7 separate regions of the Homo sapiens genome follow, and regions 1, 2, 3, 5, 6 and 7 are each linked to region 4. The links are contacts of gene promoters, found by promoter capture Hi-C in blood cells and fetal thymus (Javierre and others, 2016). All regions are on one chromosome and are shown on one strand. Each heading gives the region's core, a stretch centred on a gene start or on the middle of the fragment in contact. The rest is flanking DNA. Distances are from core to core; before and after follow the strand shown. Region 1 holds the start of AHCYL1 (adenosylhomocysteinase like 1). Region 2 overlaps AHCYL1 (adenosylhomocysteinase like 1). Region 3 overlaps AHCYL1 (adenosylhomocysteinase like 1). Region 4 holds the start of GPR61 (G protein-coupled receptor 61). Region 5 has its middle 23 kb from the start of AHCYL1. Region 6 overlaps STRIP1 (striatin interacting protein 1). Region 7 overlaps SARS1 (seryl-tRNA synthetase 1).

The links. Contacts are between HindIII fragments. The CHiCAGO score rates a contact against its expected background, and 5 or more counts as called.
Region 1: a contact is called between the fragment with the promoter of AHCYL1 here and the fragment with the promoter of GPR61 in region 4, in 17 of 17 cell types (naive CD4 T cells, erythroblasts, total CD4 T cells and 14 more). The highest score is 14.6, in naive CD4 T cells.
Region 2: a fragment that was not itself captured here is called in contact with the fragment with the promoter of GPR61 in region 4 in 9 of 17 cell types (erythroblasts, M0 macrophages, M1 macrophages and 6 more); the score reaches 8.2 in erythroblasts.
Region 3: a contact is called between a fragment that was not itself captured here and the fragment with the promoter of GPR61 in region 4, in 17 of 17 cell types (erythroblasts, neutrophils, M1 macrophages and 14 more). The highest score is 12.4, in erythroblasts.
Region 5: a contact is called between a fragment that was not itself captured here and the fragment with the promoter of GPR61 in region 4, in 5 of 17 cell types (M2 macrophages, activated CD4 T cells, monocytes and 2 more). The highest score is 6.3, in M2 macrophages.
Region 6: a contact is called between a fragment that was not itself captured here and the fragment with the promoter of GPR61 in region 4, in 1 of 17 cell types (total B cells). The highest score is 6.0, in total B cells.
Region 7: a fragment that was not itself captured here is called in contact with the fragment with the promoter of GPR61 in region 4 in 8 of 17 cell types (total CD8 T cells, M2 macrophages, M0 macrophages and 5 more); the score reaches 7.0 in total CD8 T cells.

The regions. Positions count from the first base shown.
Region 1 is chr1:109,983,137-109,986,126 of GRCh38, forward strand. It overlaps AHCYL1 (adenosylhomocysteinase like 1), which reads left to right and starts at 1,629. Exons shown (of 17, transcript NM_006621.7): 1 at 1,629-2,036. The coding sequence starts at 1,917. RefSeq lists silencers at 1,855-1,924, 2,105-2,174. The HindIII fragment of the contact is 11,948 bases long and covers 1-2,990 here.
Region 2 is chr1:110,022,169-110,024,978 of GRCh38, forward strand. AHCYL1 (adenosylhomocysteinase like 1) reads left to right here. Exons shown (of 17, transcript NM_006621.7): 17 at 1-1,574. Among named protein-coding and RNA genes, the nearest start is that of STRIP1, 11 kb to the right of the region's middle. The HindIII fragment of the contact is 837 bases long and covers 1,052-1,888 here.
Region 3 is chr1:109,999,692-110,002,736 of GRCh38, forward strand. The region is part of intron 1 of AHCYL1 (adenosylhomocysteinase like 1); the gene reads left to right. Among named protein-coding and RNA genes, the nearest start is that of AHCYL1, 16 kb to the left of the region's middle. The HindIII fragment of the contact is 1,198 bases long and covers 921-2,118 here.
Region 4 is chr1:109,538,270-109,541,209 of GRCh38, forward strand. It overlaps GPR61 (G protein-coupled receptor 61), which reads left to right and starts at 1,603. Exons shown (of 2, transcript NM_001393907.1): 1 at 1,603-1,684. RefSeq lists enhancers at 1,116-1,617, 1,618-2,117. The HindIII fragment of the contact is 3,019 bases long and covers 1-2,559 here.
Region 5 is chr1:109,960,687-109,963,821 of GRCh38, forward strand. No RefSeq gene overlaps it. Among named protein-coding and RNA genes, the nearest start is that of AHCYL1, 23 kb to the right of the region's middle. RefSeq lists an enhancer at 1-274. The HindIII fragment of the contact is 7,765 bases long and covers 1-3,135 here.
Region 6 is chr1:110,040,752-110,043,849 of GRCh38, forward strand. It overlaps STRIP1 (striatin interacting protein 1), which reads left to right. Exons shown (of 21, transcript NM_033088.4): 7 at 785-891; 8 at 983-1,110; 9 at 2,337-2,519; 10 at 2,888-3,098. Among named protein-coding and RNA genes, the nearest start is that of STRIP1, 7.7 kb to the left of the region's middle. The HindIII fragment of the contact is 1,300 bases long and covers 621-1,920 here.
Region 7 is chr1:109,224,842-109,227,982 of GRCh38, forward strand. The region is part of intron 2 of SARS1 (seryl-tRNA synthetase 1); the gene reads left to right. Among named protein-coding and RNA genes, the nearest start is that of SARS1, 12 kb to the left of the region's middle. RefSeq lists enhancers at 533-1,217, 1,218-1,902. The HindIII fragment of the contact is 7,808 bases long and covers 1-3,141 here.

The DNA.
Region 1 (2,990 bases), core at 379-2,878, 440 kb after region 4:
GATCACGAGGTCAGGATCCGAGACCAGCCTGGCCAAGATGGTGAAACCCCGTCTCTACTAAAAATACAAAAATTAGCCGGGCACGGTGGCGCACGCCTATAGTCCCAGCTACTCACTCAGGAGGCTGAGGCAGGAGAATCACTTGAACCCGGCAGGCGGAGGTTGCAGTGAGCTGAGAGCACTCCAGCTTGGGCAACAGAGCGAGACGTCATCTCAAAAAAAAAAAAAAGGTGGTCCTGGGGAGGAATTTAGGGAAAGGGCACTGGGAAGACTGGAATTGCTCAGCACAGCAGAGGAGAATCTGGCTTCCCAGAGTCTATCAAGGAAGGAAGGATGAGGTGCAGAGATGGGAAGGGAGGAACAGGAGGAAGCTAGATTAGATGGCAATGGGCTAGGGAGCGTGGTGGGATCTTGTGGCCATTGAGAAATCCCCGGGTGGTAAGACAGCCAAAATAACTTTTCAGAACATTTCAGAAATGTGTTCTTAAATTGTTTGCTGTGTGATGTAATCTCTCCCCTGTGACCCACAAACCTTTATTAAAAGTTTTACTACATGTTACAGCCTTATTTTGTAGTTGTTTAGCATGGGGTGGGGGTTGAAAGGAGAAGCGGCTGAATTGACCCCAGGAGCTACAGAAACAGTCACAAGACCAGAATAGTGAATAAAATGCCAGACAAGGCAAAAAAACTAGAGCCAGAGGTGACCATGAAAATCCAAGTCCTCCCAGTAATGGACTTTCCACAGGACATGGTAATTGGAGCCAATGTCATTTGAATCTCAAAGGACAAGCTACCTCAGCTGACATTAGGATACAAGCAGGTTTTGCCTCTCCAGCTGAACTAAGCCTTGCAAAACATAAAATGCGTCACATGTCCTTTTGCCAGCAGGGCCTCAGCACAGGCACTGCACATAGTAGGCCCAGTAAAAGGGTGTGAGCAGTCCATGAATGTCCTGGATGCCCACTGAGAGCTGGAAGGGTCTAATGCTTTGGTGGAGCAAGGACCGGAAGGCCATTCTGGCTGGGGACTTCTCCATCAGCTCTCCTGGTCTCCACCCTCATACCCATCAGCCCTATCCCAATGAGGGTTTTGTAAACAGGCAAGGCCCAGTCGGAGATGGTGGTGGAGGAAGTCACAAAGCGTTGTGCAGAAACCAGACTACTCTGAGTCAGTTCTGCCCCCTATGAAGTCAAAAAGACAGGCACGGCCCCTTGGGAAGGAGCTTTAATCCAAAGGGCCTGGGGCTGGGCCAGTGAGTGAGTGGGCTGTCTCGAGCCCCGGACATTTCCTAGGAATCGCTGTAGGATGTGTCGTGTGGGGCTCTGGTCTTTGCTCCCAAACACCCCTTTCATGCGCCTCTGAGGCCTTGCCAGGAACCCCGCAGCCCAAAGACCCTCCGTTCCGCAGCATCGTTGCATGAACCTCGCGCTGCTCCCAGGGCTGATGGTGCCACCTGGTGGCACAAAGGGTCCTGCTCACCCTGGGAACTTCGCTCTCGAGCGGGAGAGGAACGGCTTCTGTGGCCCAGCCCAGCGTGGTGACGTCACGACAGAGTGCCCTTTCTCCCCGCCTCTTCCCCCTCCCGGGAGCTGCCAGTACTTGACGTGGCGTCACCGCCCTCTACCCTCGCTTTGCGTGCGTGTTTGCGTACAGCGGAGGTGGCGGCGCGGGCAGGTCGGAGCTCGGAGCTGCTGTTCTGGTTCTCTTGTGGCCGCCGTCGCTGTCCGGCTGCCTTGGGCTGCCGAACAGACAAGGCGTGGGCCACAGCACCTCAGAAGCCGACGCAGCTCGACGCAGGGGCCGGCAGGAGGGTGGGCGATCGCGTGTCGGAGGGCGCCGCGCGGGCAGGCGGGCGGGCGCCAGAGGGGGAAAGAGGCGGGGGCGGCGGGTCAGCCGCTGGCCGGGCCGGCCGGGGAATGTCGATGCCTGACGCGATGCCGCTGCCCGGGGTCGGGGAGGAGCTGAAGCAGGCCAAGGAGATCGAGGACGCCGAGAAGTACTCCTTCATGGCCACCGTCACCAAGGCGCCCAAGAAGGTGCGGGGGCTCTGGGTGGCGGCGGGGGCTCGGGCTCCGGCCTCGCGGAAGGGACGCGAGCAAGCCCGGGCTCTGGCTAGTTTGGGACTTCTGGGGGTGACTGGGGACGGCGGAGGTGATGTAGGGGGTGGCGGCTGTGCGGCCCCAGGCCTCTCCCGGGCTGAAAGGCCGCCTCTGACCTCGCTTTCCTTTGTCCCTCGGCCCAAGTCCTCCGGGATCGTTTTGAAACCCGACAGGGCCAGGCCTTAAATTTGCGACTGACTTTTCCTGGATGAAGGGCCTCGAAGACGAGAGTGGGAGGGGGTGAACCAACTCAGCTGACCCTTGTGACCAGTCCGGGGGCATGGGGTGTACAGAAAATCTCCCTTCAGGTGAGTGGGTAAATCTGGCAGAACTTCCATCAAATCTTTGGGAGCAGTGGCCGCTTTATCCAACAACTGCGTGATAGCTGGGAGGCAAGAGAAAAGAATGCGTGAAGCTAGCTCTGATATACAGGTGAAAGCGATGAGGGTAACATGAAACTGAAAATCTATGATTTTCACTTTCTACAGCATTCCAATTACTTCGAAATATGTAAGAAATTGACATTTGGAGGTTGGTGACAGCAGACACTGTCATGGATACAGGTGGATCCTAGAGTCATGTGAATAGATCACTTAGGCATCCCTGGAGAAAGGAGCTTGGGTGGGTTGGAGTAGTGGGTGGTAAGGGAAGATTGCTCACTCTTGACTGTACTTTTGAGGCAGAACAAGTTTGATCTATTGTGCTGTAGGTTGACTCAAAGGACACCCTTCGAATTCTCTCATAAATGGCAACCTTTGGAGATTTTAGTCTGACTAGCTCTCCGAGTGGTGGAATTGGGATCCTTATTGCTTTCTCATCATTTACTGCCAACCACATCTTGATTTTCCATACACCTGGCACCCAGTTAGCAGTAGACCAGAGAACCTTTAC
Region 2 (2,810 bases), core at 220-2,719, 480 kb after region 4:
TCCAAGCCCTGTTTCCTGCGTAAAGGTGGTATGTCCAGTTCAGAGATGTGTATAATGAGCATGGCTTGTTAAGATCAGGAGGCCCACTTGGATTTATAGTATAGCCCTTCCTCCACTCCCACCAGACTTGCTCATTTTTCGAGTTTTTAACTAGACTACACTCTATTGAGTTTAATTTTGTCCTCTAGGATTTATTTCTGTTGTCCAAAAAAAAAAAAAAAGAAAAGAAAAATTAAGGAGAATTTTTGGTGTTAATGCTGAGGAATTGCTTGAGTGGTTAGTTGTTACCAATTTCTCTTTTGAACCTTTGGAGCTAAGGATGCTGAGTCTAGAGAAATGCTAGTCTCAAGCCCTGTTAAGTCCCTCTGTTTCTAGCCCGTAGTTCATAGCATCAGTGAACTGGAGCCACAACAGCAAATTCTATCAGCTGTGTACCATACAGCTTGTGCTGAAGGCGAATTTCTTGAGCCATTACTCAGTATAAAGCACTGAGTTCTATCTTTAGGATTTATCTTTAAGAGCAAATTTCTGGTCAGCTGTGCTTCTGCAACCTAAAATATTTAAAGGGAGGTAGGTGTGGGCAGGAGGAGGAATGATAAATTGGGCCAGGGCAAGAAAAATCTAGCTTCATATAATTTGTCTGGGACTATACACCCTATATAATGTTAGTTTTACAGAAGTAATATGACTTTTGATTGCTACATACCACAAAGAGTTTATGAACTGAGATCATAAAGGGCAACTGATGTGTGAAGAAAGTAGTCAGTACATCCTGGCTCATGCTCTGAAAGAATATCCAGAGAGGCTCTCTCAAAGATCAGGGAGATGTATTCCCATGCCATGCACCCTGCTTCCCAGCATTTCTGCATGGTCAAGTGAGCTTTATGCTCATGAGCTTTAAGTATATAATTATCCAGGATTTTAAATCCTCAACTTGTTCTAGCTTGTGATCCCTCAAAGTTGGGTCATACGTTAGTGCTAGATACTAGAAATTTTCACTTTTCCACTGATCAGAGAGACAGACATTAAAAACAAAAATAGAAGAAAGGAAAGCTTTCACCCTGCAGCTTCTTAGCAGGGAACAATTGTCTTGCCAAAACTTTTTTCCCTTTTCTCTCCCATTTTCTTTTACCCAATCCCTTCTTACTCCTTGCCAGTGTGACCATGCTTTCTTCTCTGTAGATGTTAACAGTTAAGGCCTATTTTCCTCGGGCACTTAACCAACCAATCAGAACACCACATCTGTTAGGGGAGGTAACCTGGCCAACAGTGTATCCATCACGTTAGCCCTGCTGGAGGGAAGGGACCCACATTCACCTGCCCTCTGACCTGCCCCTTGATCCCATATCTATTACCGTGTCCATAGGAATAATAGGTAAGGGCTCTGTCTCTGTCAAGCCATGTAACAAAGGACACTGTTAAAAAAAAAAAAAAGTCTGGCATCAGAGGGAGCATGTGGAGAGCAACTTGGGAAGAACAAGTTCATTTTGTATTGAATGATTTTTAATGAATGCAATATTAATCCTTGCAGATGAGCAATAATCATTAAAATCGATTAAAATGATAAGACCTTATTGGCAGTCCGTATGTGTCATTCTTTGTTAAACAGCAAAACTTCATTAGAACCTGTTTTCTAGGGTGTGACAAGTTATAGGTCAGTAGCATTTAATAGAGATTTGTTGAGGGCCTAATATATAGAGGCTGGATACAGGATTCTTCAAAGTAATACCTGAAGTTTTGTATGCCTGCTCTGTGCCAAGCACCGGGCCTGGGTACTTTCACTCCTAACTTCCTTCAGGAAGCAGACTTGCTGCTTAAGCCTCAGGGTTCCTCATTTGCATAGTCCTTCTAAGACCTAATTTCTGAAGAATGCCCCCAAAGTTATGTAAGCTTCAGCCTCCTCCCACACCTGTATCCATTTCTGAAGTGGTCTCAGTGTCTTTTTTTTTTTTTTTTCTCTTTATTTTTTTGAGACAAGGTCTCACTGTCACCCAGGTTGGAGTGCAGTGGCTTGATCTCAGCTCACTGCAACTTCTGCCTTCCGGGCTCAAGTGATCCTCCCACCTCAACCTCCCAAGTAGCTGGGACCACAGTGTCAGCTAATTGTTTGTATTTTTGGTAGAGATGGGGTTTCGCCATGAAATCTAGGCTGATCTCAAACTCCTGGGCTCAAGTGATCCTCCTGCCTCTGCCTCCCAAAGTGCTGGGATTACTGGCCAGTGTCTTCTGATGTAAGAAAGTATTTATCTTGGTCAGTTTCTGCTGCTCCAGCAAAATCCTGAGACTGAGTAATTTATAAAGAACAGAAATTGATATTCTCACAGTTGGAGGCTGGGAAGTCCAAGGTCAAGTCGTTGGCAGATTTGGTGTCTGAAGAGGGCTGCTGCCTGCTTCCAAGATGGTACCTCTTATGCATCCTCATATAGCAGAAGGTAGAAGGGCAAAAAGGACCTAACTATTACCTCATATATGCCAAAGTCTGTTTTAGATACTGGGGATACATCAGTTTAAATCAGATGATCTCTTCCTTTGTGGTGTTTACGTAAAATTCCAACAAGATCCAAATTCCTTCCCTTTTTCCTTTACCCACAATTTGGCCATTAGGTAAGACAGAGCAAGCTAGGGATTCATGTGGATTTGCAGCCTGTGAGTGTGGGTGGTATCCTTGTGGGAACTGGGGATGTAGCTTGGTACAAGGAGTCAGATCCCAAGTGGCGTGGGGAATGCATCTATGCAGGGGATGAATGGCAATGGCAGATTAGTTAGGGATAAGGGATTTGATCACTGTACGTGAAAATATTAAGGGTAGC
Region 3 (3,045 bases), core at 270-2,769, 460 kb after region 4:
ATCAATGGTAAAATTTTTTTTTTTTTTAACCTGAGGTCTTCAAATTTAATACAACATTTATTTTATTTTTATTTTTATTTTTTGGAGACAGGGTCTTGCTCTGTTGCCCTGGAGTACACTGGCACAGTCACAGCTCACTGCAGCCTCGACCTCCCAGGCTTGGTTTATAAATGTGAGCCACTGCACCTGGCCAAATATAACTCTTTTTCTGTTGGTGGAATTCAGCTGTGCTAGATCTTTTAGACATAAGACTTGGAAAGGGTGCTTTTTGAGTGGCACACCACAGATGAGAAAGGAACCTAATGGAATGTTTTTAGTTTAAAAGAAATTATCTGATTGTGCTAAGTGTTCATGTGTGAAAGAAATATTCCTCCAGCACCATTCAGCACAGGATAAACCTCTTCAAAAAGCACATTTAAAGTATATTCTCTGTTGCATGTTTTAGAATATGGTAACTTCTCATGAAATAACCAGCGAATTTCCCCAGTGACCAAAAGAGGAAAAAGAAAAAATCAGTGGCCAATTTGACCATACTAAACTAAAAATTTTGCTTAAACGCAGGTGGAAATCATACAAATAGGGAATTCTGAATTAATTTCTTTTGTCCTAGTAAAGTAGTCTAGATTAGATTGCCCATACATTCTCCTCCTTACTCCATCCCCAGAAGACAATGGAAGTGTATTCTAGAATGGAACATTTTGTTACCACAGTGTTTGGGCTCTGCTATTACTGGGCTCTCCTCACCCTTTCCAGATCTATGGAGCAGTACTTTTCAATGGCAATTTGTTGGCAACGTAAAAACATTACATTTCTTTGCATCATTTTACTTTTCTGAAAATTAATAAAGGTTTTTGGAACTTAAAGAATTATTTTCCTTTACCAGTGCTTACAAATCTTTATCTGGTGTTATAAGCTCAGAAAGCTTATAGTGCAACAGTAGACCACTCCAAGGTAAACTGACCCCTTGGAAATAAAGGGGAAAGCTGCTGTTTCCCCAGCCTATTCCAAAAGAAGGAAAATAGAACTGGGCTTATGGGTGTTTTTTGTTTTTGTTCTTTTTTTTTTTTGCTTTTTGCTTTTTAAACCTCAGTGTTGGTAGCAAATTGCCTTAAGCAAGTCACTTAGCCCCAACCCCTGTTCTGTTTTCTCATTTGTGAAGCATAGATGCAACATTGAAAGGATTCTAGAATGTTTTGAAAATACAAACCCTCTGTAAACTGTAAGCCACAGGTGTTGAGGCAAAGCACTTAAAGTCATATAAATCTAGGCATTCAGGATCTTGGTGTCCACCCTACTAGTAAGTGGGATTTCAAACTTCCTGTACAATCAACTTTAAGTAAAAATCTTCATGTAGTGCTATCAGGTGGTGTTACCAGTGATGCTTGTTCTTTGTATGCCAAGAGTTCAACAAAAATGGTTTGTAAAATATTTAGATCAGTGATATTCTAGCAGTGATATATATTGACAAAATTTGCCAATATTTTGCTATACAAAATTAATTTTTTTTTTTTTTGAGACGGAGTCTCGCTCTGTTGCCCAGGCGGGAGTGCAGTGGCATGATCTCAGCTCACTGCAACCTCTGCCTCCCAGGTTCAAGCGATTCTCCTGCCTCAGCCTCCTGAGTAGCTGGGACTACAGGCACACGCCACCATGCCCGGCTAATTTTTGTAATTTTAGTAGAGATGGGTTTCACCATATTGGTCAGGCTGGTCTCAAACTCCTGACCTTAGGTGATCCACCCTGCTCGACCTCCCAAAGTGCTGGGATTACAGGCGTGAGCCACCACACCCGGCCTTGACAGCTTTTTATTTCCCTGAGCCTATACTAGTTGGTTCTTATACCCTATGAACCAATACAAAATGATTCCCAAGTGAAAAAAACAAGGTGCAGACTATATTATCATGCTACCTTTTGAGTAAGGGAGGGAAAATAATATGTATTCGCTTCCCACACTCCTAAAAAGAAACATAAAAAGGATAAACCAGAAACCAGTGAAAATGGGGAGGGACACGTAGAGTATCAGGGCTAGGAATAGCAGTGAAACTTCTCTGAGTGTACCTTTTAAAGTTTTGAGACATGTAAATGTTTTATATGTCAAAATCAAAGAGAAAAAAGGAAAGCTTTAAGTTCTTACAAACACAAAGGAATGAACCCAACTAAAATATAAAATCTTAACCTAATATATCAAATTGATTACTCAGTCACACAGAAAATAGTACTTTGATTATATATCTTTATGAAATATATTCTGAGGACGAGAAGAACTTCAATGAAACCTTGACACGTCACTCAGTAAATTTTGGTGCGTAATAACATTAGTCTTGTCATTTTGAAACTTTTGTATGCATTATAGAATAAACAAACATTAGAGACAAGACATACAATAGGAAAATTAAACTTTTTTTAAAAAAGGTAATACTAAATCTGAAGTAGAAATATCAATATGAACTCATAAGTAAAAGGATTGATTTCTCTCTCTACCAAAAGAACCTAGGAGTAGTGCATCTCTAATAGCAATTATCACACCTCTTACTCCAGGTATTAGCTTCTAAATACTACTCCCTTCTAAAAGAAAGGCTCCTGAGAGAAATGGTTGATTCCAGGTTTGGAGAAGAGGAAGAACAAGGTGAGCCTGGTATATCTTCTTTTGTCAAAAAGAGTGGAAGGACTGTAATGGAATCATGTCAAAGGACAGAAGAGCCAGCTTGAAGGAGGCTCCCACTGGCCCAATTTGAGACAATATGAGTATTCAGTGCAATTAATGTATAATTAAGTGTAATCTGTTAAATACATAAAAATCTGAATGACAAAGGGAGAAGATTTTTCTTTACAAAAGAATGCCAGCTAATGTGGAAGCATTGATAGAAAAATAGAAGTTGCGATTCTATAACCTTCCCAATATAATTGGTTCAGGCAAGGATTATTAACAGATGGTGAAGTCATTAGGGAATAGGATATTAACATGATGAAAAAAGTATTGCCCTACAAATTAACTTTTACTTGCAAAAGAGAAAATGTACCTTTCAAAGAAGAGATCTGATGTTC
Region 4 (2,940 bases), core at 353-2,852:
GTCCACAGTCTTGTGTCAGGCCACTGGAGAGGCCACGGAACGAAGGGAGAAGGAGGAGGAAATACTTGGACTTCAAACAGATCTGGGTTCAAATATCAGCTCTTGCACTTATTAGCTGTGTGATTTGGGGAAAGTCACTTCTCCTCCAGCACCCGGTTCCTCACTTATAAAATAGGGCAAGTCATGGCTGCCTCATAGATTGGTGTGGGGATCAAAGAAACTGTATGTAAAGGGCCTGGCACTCATAACAGCTCAAAAAGTGGTGGCTGGTGACAGCGGCACTTGCTGCATCGGCTCTTGGTTTGTCAGTGGCCTCTTTGTTTTTGACCTGGGGCTTGGGGCAGCCAACTTGTCCCAGTGAGGTCCTTGGGTAACTCATTGTTCTTATGGCTCTTTGGGTTGGGTCTGGTAAACAATTCCAGAATTCCCTTTTTCCTTCTTAGAGGCAGAAGGAGTCCCTAGATAGGCAAGTCTCAGGGAAGCAGGCTCTGGAGTAGGGGATCATGCCTGAATTCCCTGTTTAGACTCATGGCTCTGCCATGTGGAGCTATGTGGCTTTGAGCAATCTCTTTATCTCTCTGGGTCTCAGAAACATGGATACCTTGGCCTGTAGGATGTCCTACAGCTTTGCAATGTTAGGATTCTATCCTTGGGTATCAGTCATGTACCCGGGTAAATGATCATTTTCTTCATAGCTAGAGGGAGGCCATGCCCCTTCATTGCGTCTCTGAAGGCCCATCATGCCACAGATGGGCGATGCTCAGTGGCTGATGCTACCTAGCTCTGTCCAGTCCCACAAATCCAGATCAGTGTGAGCATTCCTGAGTCCCTGGCCCCCACTCTGTCTCCTTCAGGAAGCAGTGTTGTGGTGGTTCCCATGGTGGCTCGGGGGGATGTTAGATCCTCCCGCCCCCTCCCTGCCAATCTCCATCAGCCCTCACAGCCCCAGTTCCAATAAACATACAATCTAAGCAAATAATAATAATGTGCTTTTGGGAGGCAAGGGCAGGGTTAAGACAAAGCCTTCAGCTGCCCTTCAAACCTGAGTGCTGCTCCTAAACCTGTCCCCCATACGCATTAGGCAGCTTCCAAAGGGGCCAAACCTTGGACCATCCCCTGGAGCCTCAGCCGCCTCCCTGGCCTAAGCCTTGGGGCCCTGGGTCTGCGCTGACCTGCCTGCATCAGCACCTTGGTTCTGATGTCACACAGAACCATGCATCTCTCCTATCTTCTCTTTGAACTGCTAAGAAATCAAGGCCAAAATGCAACTTGCCCAAGGTCACACGGCTAGTAAGTGCCATAGCCAGGCCTTAAACCTGGATTTTCTGACTCCATGTACTTTTTTTTTTACTTCATCAGGCTGGTCAAGAGGGTCTCCCCTACCTATCATTTCCTGGCCCCACGAAATTTTTGAGACGCAATCCAGCAGCCTGAGAGAAGTGAGAGGAGTTGAGCTCACTGCCAGGCACCTTGCCTGGGGCATTGGTGCCCACCTTTTTGCTCCAGAAGTGACTCTGAGGGGCTGGGTGGGAAGCAGGAGGCCATTAGGACCCAGAGGCTCTCGGAGCACTCTGCTTTGCCGGCTGCCTCTCACCGCTCACTGCAGTGCTTCAGGCTTCAGCAGCCTTGGAGAAGCATCAGCTGAGAGGAGCTATCACATGGGAGCCGGGACTGCTCAGCAAAGGTAGGAGTTGCCGACTAGGCCAGGAATGGGGGCCAGACCCAGAGCCTGGTGGTGAGTGCCAAGGTATCCCCACAGAAGGGTGGCTTTCCAAGGACCAGCCCTGCCTACATTCCGGTGAGCAGTTTGATCAGGAGATGGGCTCTCAGGTATCCCAAAGGCGGTATTGGGGTGTGGGCATCTCTGAAGCCCAGAGCTGGGGGGTTGATCATCTCCTGCCGGCAGGAGTACCCACATCCTGCAGACAAACAGCATTCTCCATCTGTCTTGCTCCATGTCATGGACATGGGTCTCCCACATTCTAGGAATGGGCCCTTCAGCATACAGGCTGATGGGCAACTGTGTCCTGGGCGTGGGCAACTCTGCTGAGGAGAGGTGTTGTAGCTCCCTGGAAATCTTCCCTAGCTTAGGAGGGGCACGCTCTTGTCTGAAGGAAGGCCAGGCTCAGGTCTTTGGGATGGAAGCTCTGGATCTGGAAAACAGGTGCATGTGAATCCCAATACCTCTGTGGCCTTGGGCTGGGCACTTATGCACATCTTGCATCCTGTAACTTGACCATGCCCCTGCTAGAGGCCCAGACCTCAGGCCCTAGTGGCAAAGCCTTCTAGGTACTGAAGGTCCTGGAGGTAAGAGGGGTGCTGTTGGAAGTAAGTAGTGGGGGAAGGAAAGCATCTGTTGGGGGAGTAGGCATAATGATATGACCTGGGAGAGGAGTGAGGCTCCCTGGGTTTCACCTATGAAACTGTTACACCACAGCCCTCCCCTCCATAACCCCAGTCCATTAGTGAGGGAGTGCCCATTAGCCAGATACACTGATCTGTCTGTTAAGAGGTAAATTGGAATCCTGGCATTTAGGAGTCACTGTGGAGACACTGGCAAGCTTGAGGGAGCTATGAAAAAGAGCAATGTCCAATGCCTTCTTGCTCAGGGCTCCATCATGGCTTCGTGGCATCCCTCCAGCTCCACGTGGAAACCAGGTCTGCTTCCCTCCGTCTGGGACTCTTGATGTCCATCCAGACATGGTGGGCCTCTCCTCCTTCAGCCACCAGGGAGGGACTCTGAACCACATCCTCTGGGCCTCACTCACAGACAGAAGGGATAGGTAAATCAGAGCATGGAGAGTAAGAAGGAAGGATGCTTCTCCTAGCATTTCTTTCAGGCATTTTTCCTGGTAGACTCTAATGAGAAGCTGATGTCTCACTTTTGTGCCCGCTCTTCAACTTCTCTGCAGACTCTAAGTCTCTGTGGGCATCTTAACT
Region 5 (3,135 bases), core at 411-2,910, 420 kb after region 4:
AAGAGTTTGAACAAAGCTAAAAAGGAGGGAAAACCAGGAGTATGTATGGGATACACTGAATAGTCAAATTCAGGTGATAAAATCTGAAAGGTAGGAGGGAACTGATAAGTAGAGCTTTGAATGCGTGGCAAGGAGTTTGGACTTACTGAAACAGGCAAAAGGGAGCCAAAGAAGATTTTGAGCAAGTGATAAACATAATAAAAAATGCTTATTAGGCAAGTTAATATGCCAGCAGTTCCTAAATTGGACTGGGTTGAAGAATAACAATATAAAGCAGCCAGCAATGATTGAGTAGTTACTATGTACCCAGCACCATGCCAAACTCTTTGCATACATTTTCTCATTTAATGAAAGTAATAATTAATGCATTTAAGACTCAGTGTCTGGCCCATAATGTATTCCAACCCTCACAATCATCCTGTAAATTGAGTATTATTACCTCAGTTTTATAGGTGATGTCTATATTGGTCTGTTTGCTATTGCTTATAACAGAATACCTGAAACTGACTAACTTCTAAAGAAGTTTATTTCTTACAGTGATGGAGGCTAAGAAGTCCCAGGCTGAGGGGCTGCATCTGGCGAGTCTTCTTGCTGGTAGGGAGTCCCCAGGTAGTTCGGGGCACCCCATGGTGAGAGGCTGAGCAAGCTAATTAACTAATTAATTAACCATTTAATCCATTAATCCATGAATGAATTAATACACAAATGAGGGCACTGTTCACATCAAATGTTTGAGAGTTTTTTTTGTTTTTTTTTTTTCTTTTTTCTGTGTCTAAAGGGTTTTTATTTAAGAGCCTGTAGTGCTGAGTTCCACCAAGGATTTGGAAGGTCACTCTCAGCAGCAGCCACTTCTGCCAGGACCAGTGGTGAGCACCTGGCAGGGCCTTGCTGTTTCCACATAAGGCAAAGGAATCCAGCTTTTCTGTAGGATTTTTGCTGCAGCTGTTCAAAACCTTGTGTGAGCCAGCAGTTCCAGTTCAAAGGTTAAGAGGGCGCATAGCACCTAGGTGGCCAGGTTCCTGTAAGTCACCACTCAGGCCATAAGTCACCACGGAGGGGAGAGACAAAGCAGCCACAGCTGTTCTGTTTCCAGTCCCACCCCTCTGGCAAACAGATGGGGGGAAATGGAGAAGAAAAGTTCACAAAGTCGGTGAAATGGCCAGGCACGGTGGCTCACACCTGTAATCCCAGCACTTTGGGAGGCCAAGGCAGGTGGATCACCGGAGGTCAGGAGTTTGAGACCAGCCTGGCCAACATGATGAAACCCCATCTCTACTAAAAATACAAAAATCAGCTAGGCATAGTGGCAGCCTCCTGTAATCCCAGCCACTCGGGAGGCTGAGACAGGAGAATCGCTTGAACCCAGAGGTGGAGGTTGCAGTGAGCCAAGATCACGCCACTGCACTCCAGCCTGGGCGACAGAGTAAGACCCCACCGAAAAAAAAAAAAAGTAGGTGAAATGAAGAGGGCAGAGGAGCTGCAGGCAACTACTTGCAGGCCCCACCACACACCTGACAGTTCTGCCTTCAAGATCCAATCACCTCTTAAAGGCCCTACCTCTCAATACTGCCACAGTGGGGGTTAAATTTCAACACGAGTTTTGGAGGGGACCAATACTGAAACTATAGCACTGCCCAAGGTTCAAAGAGGTTAAGTATTTTATACCAAAGATCAAAGAGCTATACGTGGCAGAGCTAGGATTTAATCTCAGGTTGATCTGCCACCAAAGTTGACTCTTAAGACAGGGAAGTATTAGGAAGCAATTTCAAAAGTCCTGACAAGTGGTGATGGACTAGGGGAGGGCAGGGGGAAAAAGACAGGAAAACGGATGTACAACTAAGTTACAATTGCATAGCACACATGACATGGTAATTGAGAAATCTTTAGATAGAGAGAATGGTCAAAGATGACCCAAAGTTTCAAACATGAATGACCAACAGAAAGGTGGCACCAGACTGAAAATCCAGAACCTAAGAGGCAAAGTCAATTAAAGGGATTCTGAATATATTGAATTTGATGCGTTGATGATAACCATGTGGAGATAACTTGCTAACATTTGGAAAAATTTTATTATTCCTTATACTCTGTTCCTCATTTATAACTCCTCATTCTTTTATTTAAAAAATTTTAAGAACAACTGAAAAATCAACAGCTCTTCTTAGATCCTTCAGAGAAGTGAGGTCACGGGACAAATCACTGCCTCTAAAATTAGAGAGACAGATACAGAGAATTACAACTTAACCAAGGCAGAAACCCATGAGCAGAAACTTCTGTGGGAACCAGTATTAGGGTAGAACAACTTAAACTGTAATTGATAAATTGCTAGAGGCTCCATTGTGGACAAGTCTGAGAAATAAAAACTCCAGGGGGTCCCAGTCAGAGGGAGGCCTCACAAGTTTTTTGTGAGGTTTAGCTCCATGAGCTCTACCAGGTTCTCACAGAGAGTACTAGAGAAAAATCCCTTTATACTTCTAGGGAAAAGTAACCATTTTGAAATATGCCAGAGCATTCTGTTCTTCTGGACAAGGTCTGCCTTCAAGGGAAACGATTTTACCAGAGCCTAACCTAATGGGGTTTTATCAGCGCCTAAAACCAACTGGGGGGAAGAGAAATACCCAACTCCAGCCCACTGCAGCCATCGTGTCCCACATTGCAAGTTGAGGTGGATATTGAGAAGCACTGTGAAGTTTACAGCCCAGGGGCACAGGCTTACTAAAAAACTGAGACCTCATTATATAGAATGCTTATCCTCTCCCTACGTCTTAACTCCACACCACTAAGGACTGTTTGCCAGAGTTCCTTTTACCCAGTACATTGTATCTGGTGTGCAACAAAAAAAAGTGTAAGACATACTGAAAGTCAAAAAACATAGTTTAAAAAGACAGAGCAAGCATTATAACCAAGCTCAGGTATAGCAGGGATGTTGGAATTATCAGACCAGGATTTTAAAACAACTATGATTAATATATTAAGGCCTGTAATGGAAATAGTAGACGACATACAAGAACAAATGGGTAAGCAGAGGGATGGAGATTCTAAGAAAGAATTTTAATAATGCTAAAGATAAAAAAACACTGCAACAAAAAGGAAGAATGCCTTTGATGGGCTCATTAGCACACTAGACGTGGCTGAGGA
Region 6 (3,098 bases), core at 21-2,520, 500 kb after region 4:
ATCAGAGCAGGGTGTGGGAGGCTGTCTGTGGGTGTCATTGCTGTGTGTGCTTCTGTACACATCATCTGCATGTGTGATGGGCTCAGTGTGAATGATTAGTAGGAACTGCTGAGGGCTCGTCCTAGGTGGGACTCTGGGTTGAGACTCCCAAAGGCAATCCAGGGTCAAGTGACTTACTAGAGCCACAGCTAAGTGTGGCCTCCTACTCACACTGTTACTCAGGACCTGGTCGTGGGGTATTTTGTATTTGGATGAAACACTTGATGGTGTTCCCTGGACTCCCACCTTCTTGTGTACACAGCTTGATGCTCATCTTCATTGGGTTAGACCTGACAGCTTCCTAATGTTTCATGGCTGCCCAGGAGCTCACAGCAACTGCTGACCACCAAGATCACCCCTCAGTTTTTGAGGGTTGAAATCTGGCTCTTTTTATGAATTTGGAAGTTTTTAGACTAGGTGGTTGTAGTGTTGCCTCCCGGGTGTTAGGATCCCTGGGCGTCACCTCTCAGCTCCTGCTTTCCATTTCCTCATCATAAACCCTGTTTTTGTTCTCACTGTGACCCTGTTCTGCTTTGACCCTACAGCTCGCTACCACCTCTGTGGTTTTTTTCTTTTCAGGAAGCTTAGGGTGGTAAATGCTTTTGGCCATTCTTGTTCATACTCATTTATTCAGATACCATTTATTAATAGTAAGCCCCTGCTTTGTGTAAGCACTTTGTTAGACACTAGGGTGCTCCTTTGACCCCCCCATCCCACTCCATTGTGAGCTGGCTCTTGTCCTCAGGGTCCTGCTCAACATCATGTACCTGATAGTGGAGACCGTTCATCAGGAGTGTGAGGGTGACAAGGCTGAGTGGAGGACCATGCGGCAGACCTTCAGAGCCGAGCTGGGTAGGACCCTGGGGATCCTCTCTAGAGGCCCTGCCTGGAAGCTGAGGCGGAAGGCTTTGGGAGGGTCCTGATACCTTTGTGTCACCTCCAGGCTCCCCGCTGTACAACAATGAGCCATTTGCCATCATGCTGTTTGGGATGGTGACCAAATTTTGCAGTGGTCACGCCCCTCACTTTCCCATGAAGAAAGTTCTCTTGCTGCTCTGGAAGACAGTATTGGTGAGCACCTCCTTGGAGGAGGAGAACGGTGCTATGGGATGGGCAGTAGGGAGACTGTTCCTTGAATATCCTTTTGAATATTGAATTATGTGACTGTAAAACTGCTTTGGTAAAAAAAATTATTTAAAAAGCTGCTAAAAGGAGATGACAAAAGAAGGGCCACTATTGTCCCATTGCAGCCAACGAGGACATAGGCCTTGAGTCAGAGTAGGCTGTTGGCTCTCTGACCCCGGAAGCTGTTTTCTGTCATAGAACAGCTCTCCCCCAGACAAGTTGCCTCTCAGCAAGCAGCTCTGGACCTGGAGTTTGTAAAGGGATTTGAGGCAAAGTTACAGCTGATGTAATTGGGGCCCTGGTTGGATATCACTTAAAGGGGCAAGAGTGAGCCCTGAGCCAGCCTCCATTTTCTTCAGGGTATGGTGTCAGCCCGACTCTGTGTCTAGGTAGGGAGGGACTGGGTGCCAGAGTGGGCCGTCCAGCACACTGGGCTTGGAGCGTTGTTAGCAGCCAGGCCATGCCAGGAGGCCTTCCCAGGAGGAGTGACATGGGGAGGCGGTGGAGGTGAGTTGGGCCTCTGCTACACTGGGGCTCATCCTTCCTTTCAGAATGGGTCAACTCTGGAGCCAGGGCTCAGTAAGTATAGGATTTCTTAAAAGTCATTGACACATTTTATCTTGGCCACACATTCTGTTCTTCATAAAGCCTTGCTAAGGCTAGAGAGGAAAGCTGAATTGCTCAGAAACAGTAAAACTAAGCAGTCTAAAGCTGGATGTTGCTGGCGTTTCTGCTTCTTGGGAGATGTTTAGATGAAGCTTTTTTTCTTCTTCTAAAGTTGAGCAACCAACAGTATTTCTAATTTGACTTTGAAAGACTTGCATGTACAACTTGTGAAACATGAGTCTCACCAACTTTTCTAGGAACTTGCAGGGTTAGGCTCTTTGCTTCTTTTTAAATTGAAGAGTATGTCATAGGTGCAGAGTTAGTGTATCTGCACTAGGGTCAGTCAGCCTGCATCTCCACTCTTTCCTTGTTCCTTTTTCTCCTTTCCCTTGCGGATGTCACGGAATTCTCCTTGGGAGTGGCTTCAGTCCATTGTTCAGGAGTTGCCTGGGTCTCTATAAAGACATGGGTCATGATGTCATGAATGTTTCTGAGCCTGACACAATGGTCAGGGGCCAGCCTGTGGACACATTGACCCTGGCTCTGCTTCCCTGTCTGTGATGCAGTGCACGCTAGGCGGCTTTGAGGAGCTGCAGAGCATGAAGGCTGAGAAGCGCAGCATCCTGGGCCTCCCCCCGCTTCCTGAGGACAGCATCAAAGTGATTCGCAACATGAGAGCAGCCTCTCCACCAGCATCTGCTTCAGACTTGATTGAGCAGCAGCAGAAACGGGGCCGCCGAGAGCACAAGGTGAGGACGACAGAGGTCCCTGTGACTCCTGAGGGCCCTCAAGGTGCATGCTTGCAGCAGCACAGTCCTTGGAGGAGCAGGGCTGCTGGAAATGATCTCTGATCAGCCAGTCAGAATCATGCCTCCACAGCGAGGATACTTTGTCCCCAGCTCTGGTCCAGTGTATGGTGAGTGCTCAGCACGTGGTGCTTTTGAGGGACTGGAGCAAGAAGTAGTTGATGGTTTGGCCCCCGTCTTGACTCCCACTGTGGTTTTTCCACTGTTCTTGCCTCTACTGGACACCTGTATGTGCTGTGTCTCCTCTGGCTGCACTTCCCTGGTCTGCGTCCTCAGTTGGCTCTTGTCTCATCTCCCTTCCCTGGTTTCAGGCTCTGATAAAGCAGGACAACCTAGATGCCTTCAACGAGCGGGATCCCTACAAGGCTGATGACTCTCGAGAAGAGGAAGAGGAGAATGATGATGACAACAGTCTGGAGGGGGAGACGTTTCCCCTGGAACGGGATGAAGTGATGCCTCCCCCGCTACAGCACCCACAGACTGACAGGCTGACTTGCCCCAAAGGGCTCCCGTGGGCTCCCA
Region 7 (3,141 bases), core at 530-3,029, 310 kb before region 4:
ATCCCAGCACTTTGGGAGCCAAAGTGGGCAAATTGCTTGAGCTCAGGAGTTCAAGACTAGTCTGCACAACATGGTGAAACCCCATCTCTACAAAAATAAAATGAAACAAAAAAATTAGCCAGACGTGGCGGCCTGTGCCTGTAGTTCCAGCTACTCAGGAGGCTGAGGTGGGAGGATCACTTGAGGCCAGGAGTCAAAAGTTGCAGTGAGCCAAGATTGCGCTACTGAGCTCCATCCAGCCTGGGTTTCCAGTGAAACCCTGTCTCCAAAATAAATAAATTAATTAATTAAATGCACTTTACAATCTAGATAACTTTTACATTGTAAACCTCAAAACTAAACAACAACAACAAAAAATTATAGAACTTTGGAACTGCACCAGTAAAGAGCATAAAAAGATGACCTCGGGATTCTAGCACCTTACACTTAACTTCATGGCAGTCGGCATCTTTCTCTTTGACAATATTTTGTTACACTTTCAGCGTGTAACACTTTTAGCTGTGGAAAGTGATATTGATAATCATCCAGTTTCTTTCTGTGGGACTTAGTCATTCGCATACTAGAGGCCCCATAATTATGTTAATTCCCATGCATACTCCTCCCTGGGTGTTCTTTGGGACCTATGTACAGTCAGTGCCAGCTGGGTATTTTTTGAAGCAAGAAGATGGGATTGTGAGTGTTGTCATTCACAATAACATTCTTAGATCTGATTTTGTTGCTAGCCATGCAGGGAGTGTTCACTCCCACTGCCATTGAAATGGTAATGATAGTGCTTTAATTTGTAGAGCACTCGAAAGCATTCAGATACTTTCACAGACATCTTATTTTGGTTTTGATCCTTACTGCAGAGCTGGAGTGCAGATAGTACATTTGTCAGCCCTATTTAATGGGTAAGGGAATCGGCTTAGGAAATTAAAGAGCTTGCTTAAAATCATATTCTAACTTAGTTGCAGAGTCAAACCTTGAGCTCAGAACTTGAATTTGCTGCCCTGAGGGATTATCAAATAGCAAGGGAGCCTGGTAACTATCTTGCAAACATATCACCCTGCCTATGATGCCATTGCAAAAATCTTGAGATTTAGTCCATTTTTTCCCTACCTCTGTAGTCTGTTCTTATCAAGACTCATTCTGATAGTTTCAGATTTTTCCAACTTTTTTTCTTTTTTTCTGAGACAAAGCCTCATTTTATTGCCCAGGCTGGAGCGCAGTGGCACAATCATGGCTCACTGCAGCCTCAACCTCCTGGGCTCAAGCAGCCCTCCTGCCTCAGCCTCCCTAGTAGCATGCCACCACACTCGGCTAATTTTTTTTTTTTTTTTTTTTGTTGAGATGGAGTCTCCCTGTGTTGCTACTGCACCTGGCCAGATTTTTCCAACTTTTTAAGATGATTTTGCTCTGAGTCACTGAAGGGTGTGAGTGGAGTTATGGTTAGAATTTTGATTGTATGAGAATGTGTAATGAACCTAAAGGATTTCCATGCTTTACATTTAGGAGATTTAGTCCTTTTGTTCTTTCTTTTTTTTTTTTTGACACAGTGTCTTGCTTTGTTGCCCAGGCTAGAGCGCAGTGGCGTGATCATAGCTCACTGCAGCCTCCAACTCCTTGGCTCAAGCAGTCCTCCCACCTCAGCCTCTCAAGTAACTAGGACTATAGACACATGTCACTGTGCCTGGCTAATTTTTTAAAAAGTCACCCAGGCTGGAGTGCAGTGGCACAAGCATAGCTCACCACAGCCTCTAATACCTGGGCTCAAGCAGTCCCCCCGCCTCAGCCTCCCAAGTAGCTGAGACTACAGGTGTACTCCACTATGCCTGGCTAATTTAAAAAAAAAAAAAAATATATATATATATATATATACACACACACACACACACACACACACACACATATATATATATTTATTTATTTATTTATTTATTTATATTTAGATATGGGGTCTCACTCTGCTGCCCAGGCTGGTCTTGAACTCCTGGGCTAAAGTGATCTGCCCACCTCAGCCTACCATGTAGCTGGGATTACAGTTGCAAGCCACTGTACCTGGCTATACTTTGTTTTATTTATACTCACAAAGCGGATGCTAAATATTCTTATGCAAGTTTTGTTGAAGTCTCATGTATCTTATTATAATGACCTTTGACTAACTTTCTTTAACTCTTTTTTTTTTTTTTTTTTGAGACAGAGTCTTACTCTGTCACCCAGGCTGGAGTGCAGTGGTGTGATCTCAGCTCACTGCAACCTCTGCCCCCAAGTTCAAGCAAGTCTCCTGCTTCAGCCTCCCGAGTAGTTGGGATTACAGGTGTCTGCTACCGCGCCTGCCTAATTTTTGTATTTTTAGTAGAGACGGGGTTTCACCATCTTGGTCAGGCTGATCTTGAACTCCTGACCTCGTGATCCACCCACCTCAGCCTCCCAAAGTGCTGGGATTACAGGCATGAGCCACCGTGCCCTGCCAACTCTTTTTAATTTAAGAAGAATTTAACTCTTTAAGTGATCTTTTTAAATTCACCTGGTTTTGTGCAAGGATTACAAATGATGATTTAGCAGAATTATCATACGGAAGGATGAGAAGAGAAACTAGAGAGAACGAAATCCAACCCTGGTTACACCCCTGCCATTTTGTCAAATTACATTGATTGTTCTAAACTGAGTTCCAGATCCTGTGACTTTTTGTTTGTTTGTTTTCCTTGGCTGTCTGATATTTCATCATTCCATCCATCTTTCACCCTTAGCCTCAATGCTGGGATTGTTGTTAGCAGGTAGATAAGAATCTACACTCGGGGCCGGGTGCAGTGGCTCACGCCTATAATCCCAGCACTTTGGGAGGCCAAGGTGGGGGATCACTTAAGGCCAGGAGTTTGAGATCACCCTATCCAACAGAGTGAAACCCTATCTCTATTAAAAATACAAAAAAAAAAAAGGAAAAAAAAATTAGCCAGACGTGGTGGTGCACTCCTGTAATCCCAGCTGCTTGGGAGGCTGAGGCAGGAGAATCACTTGAAACCGGAAGGCGGAGCTTGCAGTGAGCCCAGATCACGCAAACTGTACTCTAGCCTGGGCGACAGAGTGAGACTCCGTCAAAAAAAAAAAAAAAAAAGAATCCACACTCAGGTGTGTCTGCTCCAGGGCTTGCTCCTGAGCACT